3 separate regions of the Homo sapiens genome follow, and regions 2 and 3 are each linked to region 1. Evidence: promoter capture Hi-C in human tissues and cell types (Jung and others, 2019). All regions are on one chromosome and are shown on one strand. Each heading gives the region's core, a stretch centred on a gene start or on the middle of the fragment in contact. The rest is flanking DNA. Distances are from core to core; before and after follow the strand shown.

The links. Contacts are between HindIII fragments. The study calls those that stand out against the background at their distance.
Region 2: a contact is called between a fragment that was not itself captured here and the fragment with the promoter of STAC2 in region 1, in 1 of the 25 tissues and cell types used here (IMR-90 fibroblasts).
Region 3: a fragment that was not itself captured here is called in contact with the fragment with the promoter of STAC2 in region 1 in 1 of the 25 tissues and cell types used here (spleen).

Annotation. Positions count from the first base shown.
Region 1 is chr17:39,224,075-39,228,216 of GRCh38, forward strand. It overlaps STAC2 (SH3 and cysteine rich domain 2), which reads right to left and starts at 1,871. Exons shown (of 11, transcript NM_198993.5): 1 at 1,339-1,871. The coding sequence starts at 1,428. RefSeq lists an enhancer at 1,129-1,629. The HindIII fragment of the contact is 22,351 bases long and covers 1-4,142 here.
Region 2 is chr17:39,261,310-39,265,451 of GRCh38, forward strand. FBXL20 (F-box and leucine rich repeat protein 20) reads right to left here. Exons shown (of 15, transcript NM_032875.3): 13 at 4,088-4,142; 14 at 2,866-3,078; 15 at 1-258. The coding sequence ends at 151. Among named protein-coding and RNA genes, the nearest start is that of MIR548BC, 34 kb to the right of the region's middle. The HindIII fragment of the contact is 3,312 bases long and covers 248-3,559 here.
Region 3 is chr17:39,190,322-39,194,463 of GRCh38, forward strand. It overlaps CACNB1 (calcium voltage-gated channel auxiliary subunit beta 1), which reads right to left. Exons shown (of 14, transcript NM_000723.5): 3 at 1,153-1,272. Among named protein-coding and RNA genes, the nearest start is that of CACNB1, 5.3 kb to the right of the region's middle. RefSeq lists an enhancer at 2,532-3,032. The HindIII fragment of the contact is 5,691 bases long and covers 1-4,142 here.

The DNA of each region.
Region 1 (4,142 bases), core at 621-3,120:
TGCCTCTGCCAGACTCCACCCTGACCCTACGGCCTCCTCCTCCGGTCACTCCCTTGATGACCTTGACCTTGAATTAACCTCAGCTCCTGCGGGATGGTCAAGATGGAAGAAGGAGGAAGGGGGACAGTGGAAAGAAGCCTAGCGAACCCAGGACGCCTCCGGAGCCCAGGCTCCCATCATTTCTGGTCCTCACTGTCCCCTTTCGCCTCTGGAGAACAGGAGCAGGATGGGAACAAAATACCGGGTGAAGGGGGAGGGAGGAGGTCTTGGCCTGAAGTCTGGGAGGTGGCAGGGCGCGCCCTTGGCACAGCCCTTTCTATCCCAACCCCAGGCCCGCTCAGGTTGATCCCGCAGAAACAGAACTTCTCGCGGGCCAGTCGCCAGCACCTAGAACTTGGGAAGGGAGCAGACGGATTAGAGGTCGGGGGAGTGCTGAGTGTGAGCGGCGGCCTCCCCACACCCCTTTCAGCGCCAGGAGTCTGGGCTCCGCCTGCCTTCGCGGGGAGTAATTTATTCATGGTGACTCCCTCAGGAGTAACAATCATCCATAATTAGGGTTAATGATGACATTCATTAATTACGATGACTTCTCTTTTTGCTTCTACCCGCTCCCCCTCCTCTGGTCCCGCTCCCGTGGTGGGGCGCGGGGCTGCCTGTCTTTCTGGTCTGGAGCCACAACCGCAGGCCCCCGTCCTCGCCCGTGACCGACGGCCGGCGCTGCTGCAGGCCCCCTCGCGGACTCCGCAGCTGCGCACCCCCGGCCGCGGCCTCGCGTCCCCGAGCCCAACAGGGCTAGGAGCGGGGAATGCAGGACTGCGGAGGGGCAGGGAGAGACGCCCTGAGACGCGGAGATAAACACCCGGAGACGCCGGGAGAGACGGGGAGAGACGCACACAGAGACACCAAGACACAGACACGCAGGTTGTAGAGACAAATTCAGAGACACGAGCGAGGATAGAGGCGCGGACTGAGCCCGGGACTGGGACCCGGCGGCCGCTGGAGGGTGCGCCTCGCACGCACAGCCGGGCGCGTACCCCGCCCGCACCGCTCCACGCGCGCCCTCCGGCCTCGCTGCGCCCATCTCTCCAACGAAGACCAGTGGCCGCCTCCCCAGAAGGTCGCGATGGCGCGCGCGGGCGTGCGGTGCCGGTGTGATCGGGGGCTCCTTGTGGCCCCTCGTCGCCAACCCACTCCTACCCCCGGGAGCGGCGCGGAGCCTCAGTGGTCACGCGGGCCTCGCGACCGCGACCCTAGGACGCCCGGGCCCACAGGAGGACCCCGCCGGGAAGAGGGCGCCCGGGCCCGGGGCGCGGACAGGCCTTGCGCCCCCCAAGTTACCTTGGTTTCCTGGAGGGCGGAGACGGTCCCTGGGGGGCTGTGGGTGGCCGCGTCATCCGGTTCGTTCTCCTTCTCGCTCATCTCGGTCATGGTTCGGGGAGAGGGGAGGAGAGGGTGCCGAGATCCGACGGCAGGCCCACCGCGGGCAGGCTGCGGGTGGCGGGCGTCTCCGGGACTCTGAAGCCGTTCTCCAGAGGCTGCCCCCAGTTAGCCCCCGGCACGGCAGCCCCCAACCCGCGGGAGCGGGCAGAGAAAGTTGCCGGGGTGGCGGGCGAGGGGAGGCCACCACGCTGAGCCGCAGGAGCGGGACGACCCCGGGCGCGAGGACCGAGGGTCTGCAGAGGATGCTGCTCGCAGCGCGGGGAGGAGGGAAGTGGGGCCGCGGGGATGAGCCGAGGGAGGGAGCCAAGGAGCTGTCCGTGTCCAGCCGGCTCCGCCGTCCGCTGCGCCCGCCCCCCATCCCCTCCCCTCCCCCGCCGGCCCCAGCCCGGCACCCGGCGGCCCCTCCGCCCAGTCCTCGCCGCCCAACTTTGATTTAGGAGGTCGCCTGGTCCCGCCCCCTGCCCTACGCCGCTCCCCCGCGCAGCCCTGCAAATCAGGCTCTCAGCTATTGGCTGCCTCGGTGGCCAGGAGGGCGAACTGGGCGGAGTCTTGGGGGGCTCGACACGATGGGGCGGGGCTTGGCGGGGAAAGAAGCGGAGGAGGGAGTTTCACACTGAAAAACCCGGGATGGAGGGGCGTGACCAGATTGAGGGAAGCTTGGGGAGATCATAGTAGCGTCTGGATGGGTTGCAGGGAATAGAAATAGGTTGGGGCCGCAGCAAGATAGCGGAGAGTGAGATCGAAGCTAGGACTTCCAAAGAGCGAAGATTGATAGATGCCAGAGGTTGGTGAAGGAAGAATGGGGACCCATCTGTGCCATTAATTGGATGCCTTTATACCCTGAAAAGGCTCTCTCCAAATATACACACAACTGGACTATGGTGTATGTGTCAAAGGCCAGGCCGGACAATTCCTCCTTGTGATGGAAAGCCGGATGACTCTATCCCCTTCCAGTCTTGGCGTCTGAACTTCAGCAGAGATGGGGGCTCAGTCCTCACACCCAAAGTCCCCAAACTTCTCTGAGACACGCTCCCCTCCTAAAGATCCTACCACAACTGGAGTTAGATCAGGGGATAATACAGAGAGGTGGGGGAAGAGGTCCTCACCATCACCTTCCAAGGTGCCCCTCTCTCCACAATAACCTTCTATTTTTTATTTTTTTATTTTTTTATTTAGAGACAGGGTTTCACTCTTTCACCCAGGCTGGAGTGCAGTGGTGCGATCATAACTCACTGCAGTCTCAAACTCCTAGGCTCAAGCAATCCTCCCACCTCAGCCTCTCTAGTTGCTGGGACCACAGGCATACGCCACCATGCCTGGCTAATTTTTAAAATTTATTGGTAGAGACAAGTCTTGCTATGTTACACAGGATGATCTCCAACTCCTGGGCTCAAGCGATCTTCTCACTTTGGCCTCCCAACGTATTGGGATTACAGGCGTGAGCCACTGTGCCCGTTCAAGATATTTCCAATATTTCTTCTTCTCCTTCTCTTCTTCTTCTTTTTTTTTTTTTTTTTTTTTTTTTTTTTTTGGAGACAGGATCTTGCTCTATTGGCCAGGCTGTAGTGCAGTGGCTTGATCACACCTCACTGTAGCCTGGACCTCCTGGGCTCAACCCTCCCAAGTAGCTGGGACCACAGGCACATGCCACTGCACCCAGCTAATTTTAAAATTTTTTGTAGAGATGGAGTCTCGCTATGTTGCCCAGGCTAGTCTTAAACTCCTAGGCTCAAGTGACCCTCCTGCCTCAGCCTCCCAAAGTGCTGGGATTACAGGTGTGAACCACCACACCTGACCAAGATACCTCTTCTAATGCATGTTGATTATCTGGGACCCATTTTCTCAGGTCCCCCTCCCTCACCTCCAGCCCTCTTTCCTTCTGCCCCTTCTGGCTCTGACCAGCAGATCTGGCTTCCTCTCTTGGTCTGCCCAAGAAAAGGGAGATGCACTGGTGGCTGAGAGAACCTTTCCCTGGTGTGGGTGGAGAGACTTCTGGGTTTAAGTCTCCCTCCTCCTCTGCTGTGGGTGGTAAGATTGTGGGTGGGGGGTGCCACATGGGGGGCCTGAGGTGCTGAAGGGGGCCCTTATGCTAGCCTGAAAGTTGAGGGGTGGGGTGAACACCTCCACCCCCCACTCACCTCCCCCCATGCACACAGCCATTCATAGGATCTCTGCCCTCCCAAGCACGAGCTCACCATTGGAGCCCTGCTCAGGTTACCCTGTCCAGGAATAGAGATTTATTTGCCAGTGGCAGAAGTAGGACAAGGGCACAGTGAGGGTTCATGGTTGTAGGGGCTCTGACTTCGAGATTTCCTGAGGAAGGTGGGATGGAGCCTGAGTGCCATCAAATCAGTCTCCCCAAAGGCCTGTTCATGGCCAACCTTCCCCCATCTCCCACTGGACTGTCCTTCTCACTCCTGCCCAGCCCAGGCCAGTCCAGCCTTCCCTCCCTGGGCAGCTCAGATGCTGGGATGCTTGCAGCATTGAGACAGCAACATCAGGCCCTCCACTTATCCTGGGCTGGAACACACAGGGCCTTCTTCTGAGTTTGGAGATCTTCTGGGGGAGGTGCCCCTGTCTCCTCCCAAAGAGCAGGGGCTTTGGGTTCCTTAGGGGCCAGTACCTCTTTGGTCACTAATTAAGTGTGTGACCTTGGGCAGATAACTCAATCTTTTAGAGATTTTGTTTGTTTTGAGACGGAG
Region 2 (4,142 bases), core at 654-3,153, 37 kb after region 1:
GTATGTGTGGCTCTGGGGATCTGGACACTGCCCTCCCTCACTTTGTAACCCTTGCTCAGAACACTGGGGTTGCTTCCACTGGAGAGACTCCACGGTAGCTCTAGAAGTGTCATTAAATACTCAGTTCGCCAAGGTTGACCACCTCCATTGTCATAGGATGATGCAGCATCTGCAGAAGCGCTGTCTGCTGCCCCCTACTGATGGGGGTGGAGTGACAGGTGCGAAGTAGGCGTGGACTTTAATATTGGGTAAATGGGTCTGAAACAAGACAGAAACATTAAACGTTTAAGAGAGGGCTTAAACAGAAAGAGCAATGTTGGTTCTTAGAAAAACTACCGAGGGGCTCAATGAACATAAAAGCAGGGCAAAGGCTGAGCACTGGTCAGGATGTTAGAGGGCCTGGGTTCTACTTTGTTCCATCCTAGGTTGTTCTCAATGACCAGAACAACTCATATGACTTTGGTACCTGTTTGTGTAATAATAAAACTGAGGGCCGGGCGCGGTGGCTCACGCCTGTAATCCCTGCACTTTGGGAAGCCGAGACGGGCGGATCACGAGGTCAGGAGATTGAGACCATCCAGGCTAACATGGTGAAACCCCGTTTCTACTAAAAATACAAAGGCTAATTTTTGTATTGTTAGTAGAGACGGGGTTTCACCATGTTGGCCAGACTGGTCTCGAACTCCTGACCTCAAGTGGTCCGCCCAAGGATGGGAGATGGAAGAGACTCCTGGCAGCCAGGCAGTCTAGGAACCCTAATGTAAGTAGGCACGTAAGAGGCTCTGGTTGACCTGTGGCTCTCATTCTCTTTGGTGAAGAAAAAAAATGGCTGCAAGGCCACCCCCAGTGCAATTATGCTCACAGTCCTCTATGTCTGAAGAGGGGAAGAGGAACTGAGGCCAACTCGAACTCAAGATGAAGTTTGGTACTCTTTTATTTGCTCAAGGCCATGTGGCCAACGTGGATTTTTTAGAGGTTGGTATTTTTTTTGAGATAGAGTTTCATCTTGTTGCCCAGGCTGGAGTGCAATGGTGTGATCTTGGCTCACTGCAACCTCCGCCTCCTGGTTCAAGCGATTTTCCTGCCTCAGCCTCCTGAGCAGCTGGGATTACAGGCACCTGCCACCATGCTCGGCTAATTTTTGTATTTTTAGTTGAGATGGCATTTCGTCATGTTGACCAGGCTGGTCTTGAACTCCTGACTTCAGGTGATCCTCATGCCTCAGCTTCCCAAAGTGCTGGGATTACAGGCGTGAGCCACCGCGACTGGCCTAGAGGTTGGTATTAAGGGCCTGAATAAGCACACTGCCTTTCCTACAGCAGGTGTGAAGCAGATGTTCCAATAAACATCTGTTGAGCAGAACAATCTAACACACAGATTCATCCAGCTTTTTAAAACTTCTTTTTCGGCCGGGCGCAGTGGCTCATGCCTGTAATCCCAGCACTTTGGGAGGCTGAAGCGGGCGGATCACGAGGTCAGGAGGTCGAGACCATCCTGGCTAACACGGTGAAACTCTGCCTCTACTAAAAATACAAAAAGAAAATTAGCCGGGCGTGGTGGCATGCACCTGTAGTCCCAGCTACTGGGGAGGCTGAGTCAGGAGAATAGCGTGAACCTGGGAGGCAGAGCTTGCAGTGAGCCAAGATCATGCCACTGCGCTCCAGCCTGGGTGACAGAGCGAGACTCTGTCTCAAAAAAAAAGAACAAAAAACTTCTTTTTCTAGTTATTTGGCTATACCTGGGTCTCTCTATTATGGTGGATAGGTCCAAAAGCAAAGGTAAAAATCTGGGCCTGGCACAGTGACTCACACCTGTAATCCGAGCACTTTGGGAGGCTGAGGTGGGAGGATCGCTTGAGGCCAGGAATTTGAGACTAGCCTGGGAAACATAGCAAGACCTTGTCTCCACAAAATAGTTTTTTAAGGCCGGGCATGGTGGCTCACACCTATAATCCCAGCACTTCTGAAGGCCAAGGCAGGCAGATCGCTTGAGCTCAGGAGTTTGAAACCGGCCTGGGCAACATGGTAAAATGCCGTCTCTACCAAAAATACAAAAAATCAGGCTGGCGTGATGGCACACGCCTGTAGTCTCAGCTGTTGGGAGGCTGGGGTGGCAGGAAGCCTTGAGCCTGGGAGACAGAGGTTGCAGTGAGCCAACATCGAGCCACTGCACTCCAGCCTGGGTGACAGAGGAGACCCTGTCTTAAAAAATGAAAAAAACAAGTTTTTCATAAAATTACCTAGGTGTGGTGGTGTGTGCCTGTAGTCCTAGCTACTGGGGATGCTGAGGTGGGAGGATCTTAAGCCTAGGAGTTCGAGGCTGCAGTGTGCTAACAAGGTGCCACTGCACTCCTGCCTGGGCAACAGAGTGAGATCCCATCTCTTAAAAGAAAGACAGAAAAGGTAAAAGTCTATGTCTACTTTACTTGTTGCCTTAAAAAATATGAATCCCAGGAAGAGGGCTCAATGTGAAACACAATTACAAATTAAATTCTTAAATCCCATTTAACCAAACACTTTCTCTGTTATTCCTTTCTTTCCTTTAGAACAAAAATGTGGCATGTGCTTTTTTTTTTTTTTTTCTTCAATCTGGGAATGTTATTAAGCCCTAGACATTATTAGACAGACTCTGCTGGGAGGAGACCTACTTTTCTTCCCTTCAGTGGGTCTTTTCCTACTAAATTTCCATCTCTGGAGCCAGAGGGAAAAACTATCTGTCCTTAGGTTTGCACTTTTTTCTCTTTCCCTTGTTAAATGTTCAAGTAAATATAAAAATCATAGGAACCTAAATTTGAAAAAAGGAAAAAAAAAGAGAGAAGAAAGTGCTGCTAACACTAGAGTTGGAGAGTTATGTAGCCATTTTTACCCTGAGTCTCTTGATTCCAGCCCGTGTGATTTGCTGGCAGTCATAGAGTTCTATCCGCTCAAGGCTATGACAGCTCTTCAAGTGCTCCAGGGATGCATCTGTGATTAGTGGGCAGTTGTCCAGCTCAATCACCTCCAGCTGGTCATGGGCGCAGGCCCCATTCCCCAGGTGACGAATTCCATCATCTGTGATCAGCTCACAGTGAGACAGACTCTGCAGCCAAATAGAGCAAGGAAGGATGTTGAAATATCTTCTGGCATTCCTCTAGCCAGAGGCTTGTGTGAATTGGAAAGGAGACATTTTGGTTTGATTTTGATGAATATGGAGCTGGCACTAGATCCACGTGGTGAAATTTAAAAAACTAGAGATAGTGGGGTTATGCTTTTGGCAATCAGTGATTGATATTTTGGTGTGTGATTCTAAATATATTTTATAAATTCATGTAATGACTATGAAGTAGTTCATAAACAAAATAAGACAGCCTTAAAAATTACCCCTTCCTCAAATTAACACTTTTCCTTCTCTACAGGGATAAATGGGAATCAAGCTTTTCATGCAGTTTTCTGGAATTTGAACTAAATATTGAATATCTGGTTCAGAGACATGCCCCAACAATTAATTAGCTGAAGATTTTTACAGCTGTCAGGTGTGATCATCTCATCATCTCTTCATCAATATTTATTAAATCCCTGATCCTGGGAAACTCAGAAAATCTTGACCCAATTTTAGATAGTACTGTGTCACCAAACACCAAAAATGAGCCTGGATACAACAGAACAGTCACTCAGAATGCCTTCCTCTAGTGTCACTGAAAGTAGGAGCAGAACACCCCTTAGTAAAGCTTTGATTGGTTCCATTCTTACGACCAGTAACATTACATCTTAAGGTGAAGCAAATTGTATTTTGGGCAATCTGATCCCCTGGATCTCTAGAAATTTAAACATCATTCAGGTTGGAGTATAAGTTATCTACAAAAGAGAACTCATATGTTCCAAGGCAGTTTTCAGTCTTCAAGCATTGATATAGAAAACATTTAACTTTTTCAGTTCTTATCTGTTTCCTACTTCACTCATGTACTCCTTTGGTTCTCAGTAAGCTGGCAGTTTGAAGAAGCATCCTTTCCTAAAATGGTAGCCAGACACTAAGAGCTGGGTTCTTGAACTGTAGCACTGGCTTTTGATTAAACCCAGTAAACACATAAAGTTTTCAAAGTTAAACTCACCAATACTTGAAGTCGAGGACAGTGTATAGAAAGTTGGATTAATGTGCTATCTGTT
Region 3 (4,142 bases), core at 983-3,482, 33 kb before region 1:
GAGATGGGAGGTCAAGGCTCCAGTGAGCTGTGATCACGCCGCTACACTCAGCCTGAGTGACAGAGAGAGACCCTGTCTCATAAAAAATAATAAATATTTAAATTTATTTATTATTATGTTTTTTGAGACAGAGTCTCGCTCTGTCACCCAGGCCGGAGTGCAGTGGTGCGATCTCAGCTCACTCCAGCCTCCGCCTCCTTAGTTCAAGCGATTCTGGTGCCTCAGCCTCCCGAGTAATTGGGATTACAGGCGTACACCACCACACCCAGCTACGTTTTGTATTTTTAGTAGAGACGGGGTTTCACCACATTGCCCAAGCTGGTCTCGAACTCCTGACCTCAAGTGATCCGCCCAACCGGGCCTCCCAAAGTGCTGGGATTACAGGCGTGAGCCACAGCACCTGGCCTAAAATTAAATTAAAAAAAACAATAATGACAGTAATGACCATTTAGTGTTCCAGGTACCATGTTACACACTTAACACATATTCTCTCATTTATATTCATCACAAAAATAAAAAATCCTCTGAAGTTAAGTGGTATTATTATCTTCCTTTTAATGTGACTTTCCTAAGATCACACAGCTATTAAGAGTCAGGACCAGGTCAGGCACGGTGGCTCACGCCTGTAATCCCAGCACTTTGGGAGGCTGAGGGGGGCGGATCACAAGGTCAGGAGATCGAGACCATCCTGGCTAACATGGTGAAACCCCGTCTCTACTAAAAATACAAAAAATTAGCCGGGCGTGGCAGCCAGAGCCTATAGTCCCGGCTACTTGGGAGGCTGAGGCAGGAGAATGGCGTGAACCCGGGAGGCGGAGCTTGCAGTGAGCCGAGATCATGCCACTGCACTCCAGCCTGGGTGACAGAGCAAGACTGCAACTCAAAAAACAAAAAAAAGAAATTTTTAGCACTTATCAAGCCCTTATTATGTGTGGAAACAGTATAATAACACGCACTTATTATACTTATTATACTGTATAAGCAGGCAGGTATTATAGCCCACATTGTGCAGGTGAAGGACAGAGGAGCAAGGTTCAGGGGTACTAGGAAGTGGCTGGGTCAAGACTTGGCCCTGGTTCTGTCTGGGCTCTCTCTACAGCCCAGGACTGGGGGAAATCATGCCAGCACAGCCCCTCCCCACATCTTTCTCACCTTGGCCTTCTCGAGCTGCGCTAATGCCTGGCGCTCTGCTTCCTTCCTTAAGGCTTCCCGGTCCTCCTCCAGAGATACATCAGAGTCTGATGGACGGCTGGTGTAGGACTCCGCTGAGCCCTGAAAATAGAGAGAGCCAGATCAGGGCCATTGCTGCCCCTCCCAGCTCCTGGGCCTGGGAAGGCATGGAGGTGCCACCCATCATGGATGCCTCGAGCCCCAGCCAGCCCAGCATGACACCACAAGGGCTAAGACAAGGTGGTATTAGGTGGAAGGGACCAGGAGCTGAGATTTCTCAGGCCCCTGGGGAAAGTGTGGCCCTAGTGAGGGTGACAGCAGCAAGCAGGAGATGAAGGCAGGCCCAAGGACAGCTGCTTGGGGCCCAGGGAGGGGTGGGAACCTGATAGGGGCACAAGGCAAGGGAGGAATGCCAGGGACGAGTCTCTACTCCCACTGCTCCTTCCCTCCCCTGCCCCCAGCACCCGCTGAGATAGACTCAGCTGAGGTCCAGTGGCATCCATTCCAGGGACTGCAGCCACCAGCTTCGGCCTGAGCTCTCTGCACTATCAGCCGTGGACGGCCTGCTCCGCAGGATGGGGCCACCACAGATTTTGCCAGCTTCTGTTCAAGGGTAGAGGGAGACAGACTCCTACCTCCCCTGCTCCTCTTAACTGGTACTGCCAGAATCAAACTTCACTACTTACAGCCCCAGTCCTCAGGCTCTCCTAGGACACAAGAGAACCCAAGAGTTCCAGGCTGGTACAGACCGAAGAGGCAAGTTAAGAGCAGGATATGGGACAGGGCTTTCCCTGAAATGAGGGCTGCTGGGTGCCAGACAGCTGGCTTTGACCACAATGACCAACCCAGAGCACAAGGGACTCCTTTAGGGATGCACACATATGTGTAAGACACATGTTGCCCGTACAGACCTGGTAGTGGGAATGCACGTGCTTCTTCATGTGTGTGTGTGGATGTGCAAGTACAAGTGTGTGGAGGAGGGTGTGCTCTATAGTTGGCTGCATATGACTGTGTGTGTACAGCCACATGTGAGTGTACTGGGGGGGAGCTCCCAGACATCTGTGACCCTGAGGTTGGGGGACATGTGAGGGCAGGAGGCAAGAGGTGTGGATTTGTGTGACTATGCAGGGGTGGTGTTGGACAAGGCATAGGAGGTTATGTGGCAAAAGAGGAGGACTGCAGGGATGTAGGGGTTCTTTCCTGAGGGCAGAAAAGGGTCACTTGGCCAGGAAGGTCCATAAGTTTGGCATGGAGGGGACCTGGGAAAGACAGAAACAAAGTCCCACCTCTCCCCAGGGGCCTCAGGTCATTAGCTGGTGCAGCTGCCCATCTCTTTCCCAGACAAATAATGAAAATGGGAGACCCGCGGAGGAAGGGTTGGGGTGGAGCGGGGGTCACTAACAGAAGTGGGGAAAGAGGCATGAAGGAGAGAAGGAGAGAAAACCAGCGTAGCTCCCCCTCTCCCCCCTGATGGGAGCACGCAGAGTCAAAGAGCCAGGGAAACAGACAGGGAGACAGACTAGCAGAGAGGCACTCACCGACCCCAACACACACGCGGGCATGCGCGTGCACACACACACTCACCAACCCCAACACAAATGCAGGCATACGCGCGCACACACTCACTGACCCCAACACACATGCAGGCACGCGCACGTGTACACATACACACACAGTTACATGCACACACACAGACACACATGCAGACGCACATGTGCGGGCAGACACACACACATATGCAGACACACAGGTGCACACAGACACACATGTAGGCATGCGCACACATACACACACATATGCAGACACATGTACGCGCATACACACGCACACATCAGAAATGGCAGAAGACAGGAAACAGTGAGGAGGCATGGAGACACGCTGGAGTAAAGGCTGCCCTCCGTCAGCTTTCCTGAGAGGCTGTTCTACCCGCTGCCACCCCACTCCATCCCCAGCTCACCACCACCACGGTCCGGCTGGGCGCCTCCATCCCGGCACCCTCAGTGCCTGGCCCTGCTGGCCTAGGGGGTGGCCCAAACTGCCCGTTCCCTTGGGGGCTCGGGTTACAAGCAGAGTTGCTACATGTGCAGACTGCTAGGGTATATTTAGCTCAGAGATGTGGCAAGGACTGCCCCCCTCCACCACTCCCCACCACCTACCGGGGATCAGAGCTGGGGAGCTAAAAGGAGGAAGAATTGGAGGCTGGGGTCTGACTCCCTGGGTTGGCAAACACTGAAGGAGCCAAGGTCCTTTTCTGCCAAGAGGGGCAATAAAAGCACAGCGTCATTCTTCCCAGCCCTGGCCATGTCCTGCAACAGGAGGGATGAGGGGGTGATTGAAGAAAGGACTTCCTGTCTGTTCCTATACTTAGAAAAGGCTAGAATGAAGCCTCCCCTTCCTGAACCTCCCAAGTCAGACTGAGGCTCACATGTGCCAAGTGCTGTAGAGACAGAAGAAACGGAAAGAAGGGCCTCACTCTAATTAGTGGTGGATCTGCCTGGCATCACCCTCGCTCCTGGCCCAAGGTGGAAGGGAGGGGCTCATCTCCAGAGGACCCCTCCTCTGTGCTGTCTTCTGCCCTCAAATGCCCTGCCCATTTCCTCTTCAATACACGCCTTTTCCTTGTCTAATCCCAAGCCCCTCTCGCCTTTTTTGGGTACCAGGCTTTGGTGAGATGCTAAGTAGTCATAGCAACCACATGCCTCTCTCAGTCCCTCACCCTGAGCCTAAGATGGCCCAGGGTTGACAGATGAGAGCAGCCGCTTACTGACTGAGCACAGAAGACCCCAGAAAGCTATTCTCAGTTACACCCTTTCAGGCAGGGGTGCTGGGCTATCATCTTCTCTATTATAAAATCAACAGCCTCATGCCTCAACCACCCCCACCCCCGTCACCATCACCCTTTCTCTGTGCTTCTTAGACAGTCATGTCTCGAGGTGAGGAGCGTGTTTCCCTGGCCAGGACCTCACCAGGAC